Regions from separate parts of the Homo sapiens genome. Here regions 2 and 3 are each linked to region 1. The links are contacts of gene promoters, found by promoter capture Hi-C in blood cells and fetal thymus (Javierre and others, 2016). All regions are on one chromosome and are shown on one strand. The core of a region is centred on a gene start or on the middle of the fragment in contact, and the rest is flanking DNA. Distances in the headings are between cores, read along the strand shown.

The links. The method cuts DNA at HindIII sites, captures the fragments that hold promoters and counts their contacts. A CHiCAGO score of 5 or more calls a contact.
Region 2: the fragment with the promoter of FBXO38 here is called in contact with the fragment with the promoter of TCERG1 in region 1 in 2 of 17 cell types (total CD4 T cells and naive CD8 T cells); the score reaches 7.7 in total CD4 T cells.
Region 3: a fragment that was not itself captured here is called in contact with the fragment with the promoter of TCERG1 in region 1 in 1 of 17 cell types (total B cells); the score reaches 6.7 in total B cells.

Annotation. Positions count from the first base shown.
Region 1 is chr5:146,445,914-146,450,141 of GRCh38, forward strand. TCERG1 (transcription elongation regulator 1) reads left to right here and starts at 1,420. Exons shown (of 23, transcript NM_001382548.1): 1 at 1,420-1,495. The coding sequence starts at 1,437. RefSeq lists an enhancer at 1,083-1,790 and a silencer at 1,709-1,788. The HindIII fragment of the contact is 4,342 bases long and covers 1-3,005 here.
Region 2 is chr5:148,382,464-148,386,711 of GRCh38, forward strand. FBXO38 (F-box protein 38) reads left to right here and starts at 1,495. Exons shown (of 22, transcript NM_205836.3): 1 at 1,495-1,576. FBXO38-DT (FBXO38 divergent transcript) reads right to left here and starts at 1,387. Exons shown (of 5, transcript NR_105057.1): 1 at 1,036-1,387. RefSeq lists an enhancer at 1,272-1,471. The HindIII fragment of the contact is 17,680 bases long and covers 1-4,248 here.
Region 3 is chr5:148,400,177-148,404,272 of GRCh38, forward strand. It overlaps FBXO38 (F-box protein 38), which reads left to right. Exons shown (of 22, transcript NM_205836.3): 4 at 1,806-1,969; 5 at 2,172-2,337. Among named protein-coding and RNA genes, the nearest start is that of FBXO38, 18 kb to the left of the region's middle. The HindIII fragment of the contact is 173 bases long and covers 1,942-2,114 here.

The sequences.
Region 1 (4,228 bases), core at 170-2,669:
CTGCAAGCTCTGCCTCCGGGGTTCACGCCATTCTCCTGCCACAGCCTCCCGAGTAGCTGGGACTACAGGCGCCCGCCACCACGCCGGGCTATTTGTTTTTAGTAGAGACAGGGTTTCACCGTGTGAGCCAGGATGGTCTTGATCTCCTGACCTCGTGATCCGCCCGTCTAGGCCTCCCAAAGTGCTGGGATTACAGGTTTGGGCCACCGCGCCCGGCCTATACCATGCTTCTTAACCATGCATCAGCTGATGGTCATTGGGTTGTTACAATACTTTTTGGCTATTATGAATATTGCTGCTGTGAACATTTGTGCACATGTTTTTATGTGGATCCAATTATTTAGGCTTACAGTATTTAAGAGTGCTGCTTTGCTACTACGCTGACTGGGGTTAAGACCAGGCTCTGCTATTTAGTAGATGTGTGACCTTGGGCAAGTTACTTAACTTCTCTGTGCCTCAAGCTCATCTACAAACAGTGACTATGTTACCCACCTCCTAGCAATTTTTGAATCTTAAAAGAGTTAACGTACCTGACATACTTAGATCCGGGTTTGCTACATGGTTAGGTCCAAGTAAAATTTATCTATTAGTATTATTTTAATATTTTTACGACTTTAATAAAAGGGCTCATCTTCATTGTGCCTTTGAAACCCCAAATCCAAAACTTTTTTTTTTGTTAATTAGAAAAACTAAATAAATATTCAGAATTGTCTGGTATTCTGGGTGTGCTAATTTCAGACAAGCACATTTTGAGATCGAGGGAGACGTGGTTAAGCTGTAAATTGCAAAGAGGCTTGCCTTCGCCAATTTACCTTTCTTAATGCAGCAACTTATAACACCTATTGGCTTGCAACGGTTTAGTATAATTTGGGAGGTATTCTTGTAATTAATAATATATTATTTAATAACATGGATATAGAGCTGAGTGGTGACTTAAGACTCCTGCTACTGTAAAGCTAGGAAATAGCGGCTTTCCACAGCAACTGTGCAATCGGTTTAGGCGCGGCCCAGGTCGATTTTGATTGGCTTGCCCAGTGGAAATGCTCTCCGCCTGAGCTACTACTGGCCAATATGGCTCCACAATTGGCTCTCCTGGAAGCCGACAGACACGTGGCTACCGCAGGCTGAGCCGAACTTGGGAGGACTTAGTTCTGCTTACCGCGAGAGGGCGCCGGCGGTTCCTCACTGCTAAAATCTCATTTCCCATAAAGCCCCCGAGTCACCAATCAACTGGCTGTCTTCATACCGCTTTCAAAGTCGGCGGGCGCCTTGCCCAATAGCAAAGAACATATCGCCCCCATTTCGAAGATTGATGGAAAGTTTGACCAACCGCATCTCAGACTTCTGCTGTCTCCGCCTCTCTCGTTGGGGATTGACGATTTTTCTAGCCAATAGGAGACGTCGGGTCGGCGGGTGGATGAACGCGGCCCTCTGTAATGGCGGAGCGTGGCGGGGACGGGGGCGAGAGTGAACGATTCAACCCGGGGGAGCTCAGGTAAGGAACGCTGCCCTCCTTCACATCTCTGCTCACGAGAGCCCCAGAGGCTAGACGCTAGACCTGCCATGTGGAGATCCGGGGCGGACGGTGGGTAGCGGAGCCGGGCGGCCCGGGCCGGGACCGCATGGGGTTTAAGAAGGGGGAAGGGGAAGGTGGCTTGAATGAGAGCCGGGCCCGGGCTGGGCCAGGGCCTCCTGCGCGTTCCCTGGCTGCTTCCTAGTGCTTTCTTGGGGCCTCGCCGCCTCTCGCGGCCTGCAGCCCTCTGGCCGGGCGCGGTGCTCCCGCCTTTGGGCCCCGCCTCAGCCGCGTGTCGCCTCCGTCTCGGCCGACCTGAGTCTGTCCCCAGGCCGCGCTCCGCTGCGGGCCTGATTTTCCTCATCGACGTCTCTGCACTCCGCAGTTACTTTCCCTGTACCCCTCGCCACTTCTGGCTAAGCCTTCTCCACGCCCTCCGCGGCTCTTTGGGCTCCCCACGTTTGCCCTTTCATTTCATCCCCCTCATTGCTTGCCTTTCTTAACTTCTGTGGCTTTTCTTCCTTTTTTCATCCCTTTATTCCTTATTATCCTGTAGTTGTGAGTAACAACAACAGTAGCAACCCCTTATTAGGCACTTACCGTGTGCCAGTAAACCCTTTACTTAGGTTTGTCTCATTTAATCCTCACAACCACCCTTTGGAGTAGTTGCTATTAACATTTTGCAGGCCACAGACCAGAGGGGTCTTCAGTTGTTACTCGCCCATCTTACAGGTGAGATAACAGCCTCGTGGAGGTTGAGTCAGTAGAATAAGATTGCATAGGCGGATTTGTGGCTCCAGGAAGTGGCTTGAACTCAGGCAGTCAGGTTTCAGAGCCTGCAATCCCAATTGGCGTTCTATTCGTCTACTACTCATGCCATTTCCTTGAACAGTGCAGTGACCTTTTTTTCCCCTGGAACCTCAGTGTCTATGAGTTTGTAATTAAAATTTGGTAAAATGAGAGTGACCTGGAGAAATCTTTTGGTCAGTGGTTTTTGAGGAAAAGAGGTATTATGCTTTATGTGTATTTGGTACTTTGGTTTTTTTCTGTATGGGAGAAATGGCATTTCAGATGTTCAGCTCCCATTCTGAATTGTGCTGTTGTCAACGTTTGAAAATGAAAAAGAGCAGGGTAGATTATGAAGACTCTGTTGATACTGTCTTGAACTTAAGATGAAATTGTGTAAGGAAATGGGTATTGTTATTCAAGGTTTTAGAAGAGGAAAATGCCTTTCAGATTCTGTATGGTCGCACACACAAATCTCCACTTTGGCAGAAATGAAATTTTGTTTTATTTCAGAGATGAATCTGAAATCCTTTAAACTCCATATGTATACAGTATTAATGAGTGATCAAGGTGAATTGTCAGCATCTTTAAATATTAGCGATGCCAAGTTTATTCCTGATTTCGATCTTAAAGGGAGGTTACTTAGCTAGTTTCAGATGGATTTATTAGGGAACATTCTTTTGCATTTTAGAAAGTATCTTTCTAAAGCTTTAAAAAAATCCAAATGGCTTTATTAATAGTCTAGACACTGTTGCACAACTGATTTGAATAGAGCTTTAATTTGCAAATGAATTTGCCCTGTTGCAAATATTTTATACCGTAGCCTCTTGGATTGGAAGTTGCTTGCAGAGCATACTGTACAGATCTTTATTTTAGCATTTCTCATGAAATTAGGTGTGTATGTGGCCTCTTTGATGGCAGAAGTTGGGGCTTAATTTTTGCATTATATTTGTAACCTGAATGTACTTCATGGTGTGTCTGTCATAACCGCCTGGCAAATGAGATGTTCTGTAGTTATGTTGTAAATAAATGAAGATAGGAGATTTAAAGATACTTCACTTATTGGGCCGACATTTATTGTGTGCTACATGACAGTTGCTGACCTAGGTGCTGGTAATAGTGCCCTGAACCAGACCGAAAAAAGAGGTTTGTCCTGCAGGAGCTTCCAGCTTAAGTAAGAGCCATCTAAATTGTAAATGAAATCAACCACATCAAATGATTAAATCTGCCTGTAAGTGTGAAGTGACTTACACAAGGTCACTGGGTAGTTGGCAGGGTCTGGACTAAACCTCAGGTCTCCTCAATCATAGTTTATACAATTTGCCCCCATATATCGGTAGCATCTTTTTATTTCTTGCCCCTCCAGTTAAAGTATTGTCTTTAGCATTGGGGAGATTGCATATCTGGATAGAGAACTTCTATTGTAGAAAAATACCTTATGTTTGTATTTCCATGATGTTCTTGTGAAATATTTTTGTTCCTTCTATTCATGCAAGTAGGCTTTTGTTTTTCAGAAAGGTTGTAAGTGGTAGGAATGCAAATCACAATAGATGGAAAATTTATAGACGTTCCAAATACCATTAAAGTAACTTCCAGAGTCATTTGTATAGATCCTTTCCCTAGAGCCTTTGTTTACCTATCAATACTTAAGATACTTGCAATCTAAATTTCCTTATCTATAAAATGAGAATAAGAATATTCTGGTGTTATCACTGACTAGCTGCCTTAAGAAAATATTTTTCTGTGCTATCATTTCCTCTGTAAAAATGGTGTCAAACTTACCTTATTGGGCTGTAGTGAGGATTAAGAGTTAATACGGATAATGTCTGTATAACCATGCTGGTATATAGGAACTTTACTATCATTATTAAAACAATAATGTGTTTTAATGTGTTGCAACAGTATACTAAAGGGAACTATATACTAGTG
Region 2 (4,248 bases), core at 245-2,744, 1.9 Mb after region 1:
ATATCTTATTATATATAACACTCATAGCAGTGAGAAAATATCTTTAACATTTATTACAATGATTTGTGGTAGGAAATTTTCTAAACTTGAGGTAGGAAACCTTTCTTACTCATGAGTATTCATTTCAGGTCCCACTACAGTGCTTTTTACAAAAGGAGGAATGCTAATAAAATGAAAATCATATTCCATTGAATTAAAAATTCAGGCCAATTGTGCTGAAATAAATCTTACTGAATGCCTTCTAAATATGCCATGCCCTGCACTAGAAACTTTCGTAATTCCTATTTATTCTTCAGAATAACCTGGGAAACAGAAAAAGCTAAAGTCTGTTTCCTTTATTAAAGTTTGAATATGAAGAAACCGACAGAAGCAAATAGCATAAAAATTCATTTTTGTCTTCAATTACAGGAAGAATGTAACATGAAAGCTGAGATTACAATGAATAGTACATGAATATGATGAGGTTTTGTTTTGTTTGTCCTACCAGAGCTCCAAATAAAAACACAGATATATGGTTTGACATACGGAATGGGATAGCTAAAACTGTGACTGCCTAAGACAAGCTGAAACCTAAGGTGCCGAACCATATTGGGGAAAGAGGGGAAAAACCAGTAGGTCTGCTATCAATCAAGAAAAGAATAAGAAGAAATGGGATTCCCAAGCCTTCTTCAGCTTTTTCTTCTCCAGCAGAATAGCCTAGTCAATGCTACGTCTTGTCAAATTGTGTCTCACATGGCTTTAATGCACACTAACTTTCCTAAGAAGTATTTGTATCTATTTAAATCTAGGGATTTTAGCCCATATTAATTACATGTATATTAGGGCAAGAACACAGGATGTAAAAGGTAAAAATCTGAATTTCAGTCCATCTGCGAGACATTGTGAAAATCAATTACACTCTCTGAAGACAATTCCTTATCCATTAAACAACAGAAAAGGTGATTAAGTTGATCCTTGCCTACATGTCAGAGTCGTGTAGAGTTTTTAATGACACTCATGTGAAATTCCTTTGGACTGTAAAATACTATTACTTACGTGCAAAGATAATGTCCCGAAATCACAGAAGGGATGACTTAACATTAACATCTTTAACTGCGCCCCCGTCCTTCCTCTCAAAAAAAAAAAGTTCTCTATTTTTAGTTGAATGATTCTGGGAAAATCTCTATTGGAACCTATCGACTTCGCAAATGACAAAGGCGAGGTCCAGAGACTTATCCAAGACCCCAGAGTACCAGTGGAAATCAAGACCAAACCACACGGTGGAGACTGGTTCCGACGTATCAGACTCAGTGCTTCCGGCATGGCGCTTTAGTGTCAGGTGAAAGAACAGCAACCCGCCCCGCTTCTCCACCCCTGACAAGCCTTCCGAAATGCCACGCTGAACATGGCTGCCGCGCTTCGATGCTTCTTCACACACACAATATGGACACGGGTTTGAGGCTCCAGCCCCGGATGACAACACTCCGGAAATATGCGAGCGGCGGCGGAAGCGGAAGTGCCTCAGCGGTAGGGGCCGGGGAAGTGTCTGTAGCGTCCCTCCCTCTCAACCACAATAACAGGCGGAGGGTCGGCGTAGGTGAGGCGGCGGCTGAGTGGGCCTGGGGACCGGGAGCGGGGTGGCAAAGCCCGGAGTGCGTGCGGCAGGGCTGAGGTAGCTGGGTGGGGATTCTGGAACTTCCGACCGCTTAAGCTCGGCCTCTGGCCCCCTTGGGGCCTAGAGCTCCTTGAGAGATCAGGGGTTGAATTTGTAGTTCCTGGCCTTCTAGGCCGTGCTTGCGGGGGTTGCCTGCTTGTCTGAACCTGGCCCCAAAATCCAGCATAAAGAACTCTCTCTGGGCCCCAGTTTCCTCAATGAAATGGGTGAGGGTGTTGGACTGGACAGCTTCTGTGACTGTCTCCCACCCCGGGCGTCACGAATTTCATGATTTTAATGTTAAGTCGGTGTTTCGGCCAGTAAAGTGAAGGAGGTCTGTGTTCAGCGTAGTGAGGAGATGTCCCTGAGCAGGAAGCAGTGAACACATCTTTGGCTGCCACGCCTGAGTATCAGGAGCCCTGAATTCTAGTTTCACCCCTTCCACCTACACACCGTGTGACCTTGTCTAGGTCCATTAGCTTTTCTGTGCTGCAGTTTGCTTATCTGTGTTGGATGCCTTTGATGTCCGTGCCCTAGCTGTGGAAATCAGATTCTTAACTCCCTTTTCATGGAGTCTTTACAGACCTGAAAAGCATATTCTCCCTGCACTCTGCACACCCAGAATTTGACTAAGAGATGTCTACCGTGTTTCTTTGCAGACACCAAGCTGGCCAAGGGCAACTGGTCACTTAGGAAGGTTCCTGTGCAATGAGAAGCTCTGTCCAGAAAACTTTGTTTTATACACCTAAACCAGCAGTGTAAATCACTACAAAGTGAAAAACAGGAGACCTTGATTTTTGTTCCAAAGTTGCTATTAACTTGATGGTTTACTTTGGCCAAATCCCTTCCTCTCTCTGAACTTGAGATTTTTTTATCTGCTAAAGGAAGACGTTGGATTAGGTCACTGGTTTTTAATCCCCTTTCCCATTCCCCCAGCACAAGTGAAGGATAAAATAATAGTTCTATAAAGCCATGATTTTCCCAGGGAAGGAGGAGGTCCAGTCTGGAGGGTATGTATTACATAGGCATAGACTGAAAAAAATCCGCTTGTAATTTTTAACTTTCATTTTGAGAATTAACATTTTAGATTATCTGTAAGCCTTCTTTCCCCTCTTTAAAATATGTGATGCTGTAATTCTGATGTCCTCCTTGGGTAAAGAATGTAGAGTTTTGTGTGCCTCTTTGTTTAAATGGCTGTGTGCCCAGAGGTACACACTTTATATTTAGTCAAACAGATACTAATGCATAGCAGAGGAGAAAAAGGGACAACTAGATTCCAGTAAGATAGGGTGATATAGTGAAGTAAAATTGGTGGTATACTAAAATGAAATAAGGTGGTATAGTGAAATAAAATTAAAAAGGAGTTGAAGACCTGTATCCCTGCTTCACACTGGTACATCCTGCCTCTGTGACTTTGGACAAGCCATCTAACATCTCTAGGCCTCACTTTCCTTATCTGTAAAACGAAGGGTTGAGCTGGATGATTCCTAGGCCTTTTTCAGCACCATCATCCTGTTGGGGGGTTTTTGTTTTGTTTTGTTTGTGTGTGGTTTTTATCTGAGCAGTTTGGTTTATGTGGTGTGGTATTTCTTTAGACAAGAGAGGCTGTCCTGGTCAGTAGATACACAAGATAGTCTATGATGTCAATTAAGGTCTGTGAGGTCAAATTAAGTGATATGCAAGATTACTTTGATATGAGCAAGCTGAAACCAATAGAAACTAAAGAAAGGCATGAGAAACTTGAAGGGCAGGGAAGCCCTTGACCAGATAGGATCATTGAGAATATAGGGAAGTTTCAAGTGAGAGGGGGTATTTTTCACGAGGGTAAAGAAAAGTAATTTGAGTTTGGGATGGGAAGGAGATTTGAATTGACGAGATAGGAGAACACTTTTTGGAAACAACTCTGGTTTAAGAATGTGCTTGCAACACCAAGACAAAAGTAATGCTTCCTGTGGCTAAGGTCAGCTAAGCAGGCAGCCACAGAGTGACTGTAATATACCAAAGGTGGCCATAGACCACTGCATGGGAGCCTAAATTAAATGGACCATAAATCCTAATTGGTGAAGGTAGGGTGTGGTCAGATGCAGTTCTATCAGAGCATCTAGAAGCCTTTCTCCAAGCACTAGGGCATTGCTCTGGAATGCAGGAAGACAACCACAGTGACAGAGGACTGACTTGATGATAGAATGTTTACTGTAACCTGGGAAGTCTGTATCCCAGCCTGAACCTTGACACTATTTAATCTTGGGCAAGTGATTTGTCACCTTATCCTCTCTGGTTCTGTTTGTTCATCTTAAAAATTTGGGATCACTAGATGAGCTTCGATGTCTGTGAATATGAACCCCCTGAAATCGTGTATGTATTTCTGCTTGCATGAGTCTGGAAAACGGATGTGCCACTTTCATCGTATTCTCAGATGGGTTTGTGACCCACAAAAAATTGAGAACTGTGTGATTAGGTAGTGTCTCTGGTCCTCTTCAACTTTTAACATTCTGGGATTCTGTAATTCTGTCATTTCTGACATTTCCTTAAGGTTCAGAGTCTTAGGGTCTAGAAGTTGCTAAGCCTATAGGTAACACCTGGTACCGCAAAGTATAGTCTTTATATATAATACT
Region 3 (4,096 bases), core at 778-3,277, 2.0 Mb after region 1:
CAAACCACGGTTACTTTCAGATATTTAATAAAAGCCATTCTAAGGGCAAAAGCCTCATCTCATCTTGTTTCAGAATGATCCTGTATGTCAGGAAAGAAAAAAAATTAGGGCAGTGTGAAAATGATTGTCTTATTCCTTATATTAGATTTACTTTTGCAAAGGTTAGGCCAGCTGGAATTCTGAAGACGGGATTAACACAGTATATAAAGACAGGATGGCAGAACTCCCATGTGATATAGTCTTACCATTAACATCACTACCACTTACCAATTAGAGAAGAATTTGACTGCATGTTGCTGACTTTTAGGCTATGATAAATAACCTGTGAGCCCAAGGCTTCCCATCTTTGCAATGAATGTAAAAGAGAGTTGAAGCAAACAGTCTCTAGCCTAGGATAAGATCACACTAACCTTGCTCACTAATGCCACCTTGGCCTATTATCTGGCATTTAACTCAGATCCTTTATATAATAGTACTTTATGGTTTACGTATATGATCTCTTTGGATTCTCACTCCATCTCTGTAAAGAAGATAGAACTTTCCCCATTTCTCTCGTGGGAGGCAACATGTATGACAAAAGAGGATAAACATTGCAGGGGTTACACTTGGTTTTAGATTCCAGCACTGCCATTTGGAAGCTCTTAAACTCTCTCAACTTCATTTTTTATGCTTGTATATGGGGTGATAACCTTTCTGATTTGGTTGTGAGAATAAATGAAAAAAAATGATTAACACATTGAATCGTTCAGTCATTAAAAGTTACTATACAAGAAAGTAATAAGAACTGTTATTATAATTAGAGACCAAGTAATCTCTGGTCTCTCCTTACTCTTCACTAAAGTTAGCATGTCTGGACTTTACATGTTAAATGAGATAACTTAAAAATAAAACAACTTTCAAAAAAGTATGTAAGACTTAAATATTTGGGGCCTACTTTTTGTTCTTGACAGTTAATGTTTTTCTTTGTCATTAATAAGCAGACAGTTGGCTTTCTGACCACTTTCATTAAAAATAAAAAAGCCCTTGTAACAGATTAAAATAGGATCTATATGAGACTTGTCTCCCCACTTACTTAACCAACAGCTCCTGCTGTGGAAGTAACCTGCCTCTCTCTGTTCCCATCTTGTTGATTCCTACTATGGTCTCCTGGATAGATAGCTTCCTATCAACAGCATACCCTGAGATTGGATCACTCTGGTTCTCTTAGCTAACTTGCATCTGTCTTTTTCAAAAGAATTAATTGTCTAAAATGGCGGGGGAGTAATAGTTAAACATATGACAGAGTATCAGAGTAATTATTAGAAAATGGATAGAATAATTTGAGATAGGAATTAGGTCAGAACTGTGAGCTTCCTAACGATGAGGATCATATCTTATTTATATTTTTAGTTATGTGTTCTATAGAGTCCTGAAGGTTTTACAGACGAGAGTACCCATGGGGGAGGAGGAGGGTGGTGGTGATCAGGTGGGTGGTCCCACTCCATCCACCAAATAGGTCCAAGTTATCTGGGTTAAAAGTGTGTTCTTTGTTGAAGATTTCTATGCCTTAAAAGCAACAAAAACCAAAAAGTCAATAATAAAAGCCTCCTCCATAAAGTATTAACTTAGATTAAGTGGAGTTTCTGACTCATTTCCTCTGTTACTAAAGGAGTATATTTTCTGTTATGTTTATTCAGCTTTAGTGTTAGCTTTACGGAAATTTGAAGAGGAAGTCTTTTTTAACTTTTGGTAAAAATCACGAGTGCCTAGTAAATGTTAATGAACAGAAAGATGAACCTGGCTCTAAATACTTCTGAACTTCTCAGGCTTTACAGATGCCAGTTTTCTAACACTATTAAAGAAGATGCCAGATGTTGAACAGCTATATGGCCTTCACCCTCGATACCTTGAGAGGCGAAGAGTAAGGGGCCATGAGGCTTTTAGCATTCCAGGAGTCCTAGAAGCTTTGCAGGCATGCCCAAACTTAGTGGTGAGTGCACCTGGTTGAACATTTTGGCATCAACTGTTTATGAAATAATAGACCAAAGAATGATAGACGTGTTCACTCACATGCAAATCTCATCTGTCACAAACTTTTAAGTTCCATTGTGTACTTAGCATCTTGTGGTACATAAAGCTTTGGATGCTAAACTAAAGTCTTTTCTTATGCTTGCTTTGGCATTATTTTCTAGGGTGTGGAAACTTCTCATTTGGAGTTGGTAGAATCCATTTGGACATATATGCCCCATGTTCATATTTTGGGGAAATTTCGTAATCGTAATGGAGCTTTTCCAATTCCTCCTGAAAATAAACTGAAAATTCCTATAGGAGCCAAAATTCAAACTTTACATTTAGTTGGTGAGTACATGTTTCTTGGGTCACTTGTAACTCCTTGAAATGCCATAAAATGTGAATATTCACTGAAAAAGAATAATGAGAATTTTAGAGATGGCTTTGTTGATTGATGATTGCAAAATAAATGTTTGCAAGATCTGTATAAAAATTCCGATTTCCCATTAAAGATCCACTGGTGTGAGGGAAATACTGCTTCACAAGTGTACATTCTCCATCTGAATATTCTTTGAAATTATATACCAGTAACTTCAACTTAAGTAAAAAGTGTAAATATTTTCTCAAATTTGTCACCTTTGGCTTAGGCCACTGAAAGGAATTCGGGGGTCCCTGTTAATATAGCTGGCCTTTAATATTTGTTTACTACTTTATTCTGTATATATACACACACATACACAGAGAGAGAGAGAGTATATGTGTTTTAAGCATTATTCTAGGTATTGGGGATGGTCTAAAGAAGTGGAAATTTCTGAAACTCAGGTGGTACAGGGAGAGCATCAGGAATGATAAGGAGTAGGTCTTAAATAAGACTTAGATACACAATTATGGGAGAAGAGTAAAGATTTCTAGCAACCCTTCATTTATAAGATCAGGGAGTGATATCTAGTTTGAAATTGGATTTTTAGATGTAAAAGGATTCTGTAATATCTGGAATTTATAATATAAGCTCCTTAAGGTCAAAGACTTATTTCCATATCTTTATATTTTCTACAATGCCTGTCACAGTTCATTGCAAATATAAGTACAGGGTAAGTTTTATTAAAATGCATTAATTTATGGGAATCATTTAACAGTTTAACACTGTATTATGGTGATGCAGAGGTGTGGTAAATTAATAAAAATAAACATTACCAGGAGAATGGGCAGTTATGTCCTTTGTTTATAGAGTTTGTTTGAGACAGAAAGTGGTTTGGGCCTGGGGTATACTGTCTTCTCTGCATCTGTCTCACCCTTCTTCCTTGGGTTTCCTAATCAGTACAATCAGTACTACCATCTTCATAGTATTACAATATATGCTAAATTTAACCTTTGTGACTTCTGCATCTTACATCTCAATCTGTACCTCACTTCTGCTTTTTGTCCTTTTGTCTCATCCTTAATTTTACTTCCCATTTGTTGCTATACAATGTGTGTGCATAGTTCAAACTAAATTTAACTCTGCTATTTTGAGAGGAACAAGTTAAGGGGTAATCCTTGTAGGTTACAATAAGAACATTTGGTAGAATTTAGCCTTTATAAACAACTGACCATTCAAGTACTGCAATTTTACATTCTCTAGTTATTCTTGCTAGCAGAGCTCCTATTGTCTCAAATTTAAAAATTGCATTAAACAGTTTTGCCAACTACTGTTTGTTAAATGCCATCATCCTGGATCCTTGGATTTCTTTAATAAATTTGTGTCCCTTCCTTGGCTTTTATCTTCTTTCATCCATATTTCCTGTATTTTTTCACCTCACGCTACACCTCCCTTCTTCTGGTCATGGTCCTCTGTGGATATGATTCCTAGTATTAAGCCACTCCTGGATCCCATGCATCAAATTACCTTTACCAATTTGAAATTCTAAAATAAATGACTGGCAGGTTTCTGCTTTTCTCAGAGCCATGCTGGCTGGCTTCTCCCACACATTTACAAATTCTTAAGATTCATATATTTATAGAAAACAGCTTTTAAAGTTCTGTGTTTGGCTATCTTCCAGATATCTATTTGCATATTTAAACCCATCTAGCTGACTTTGCTCTGAGAAATATAGTTCTCCTACTAGGG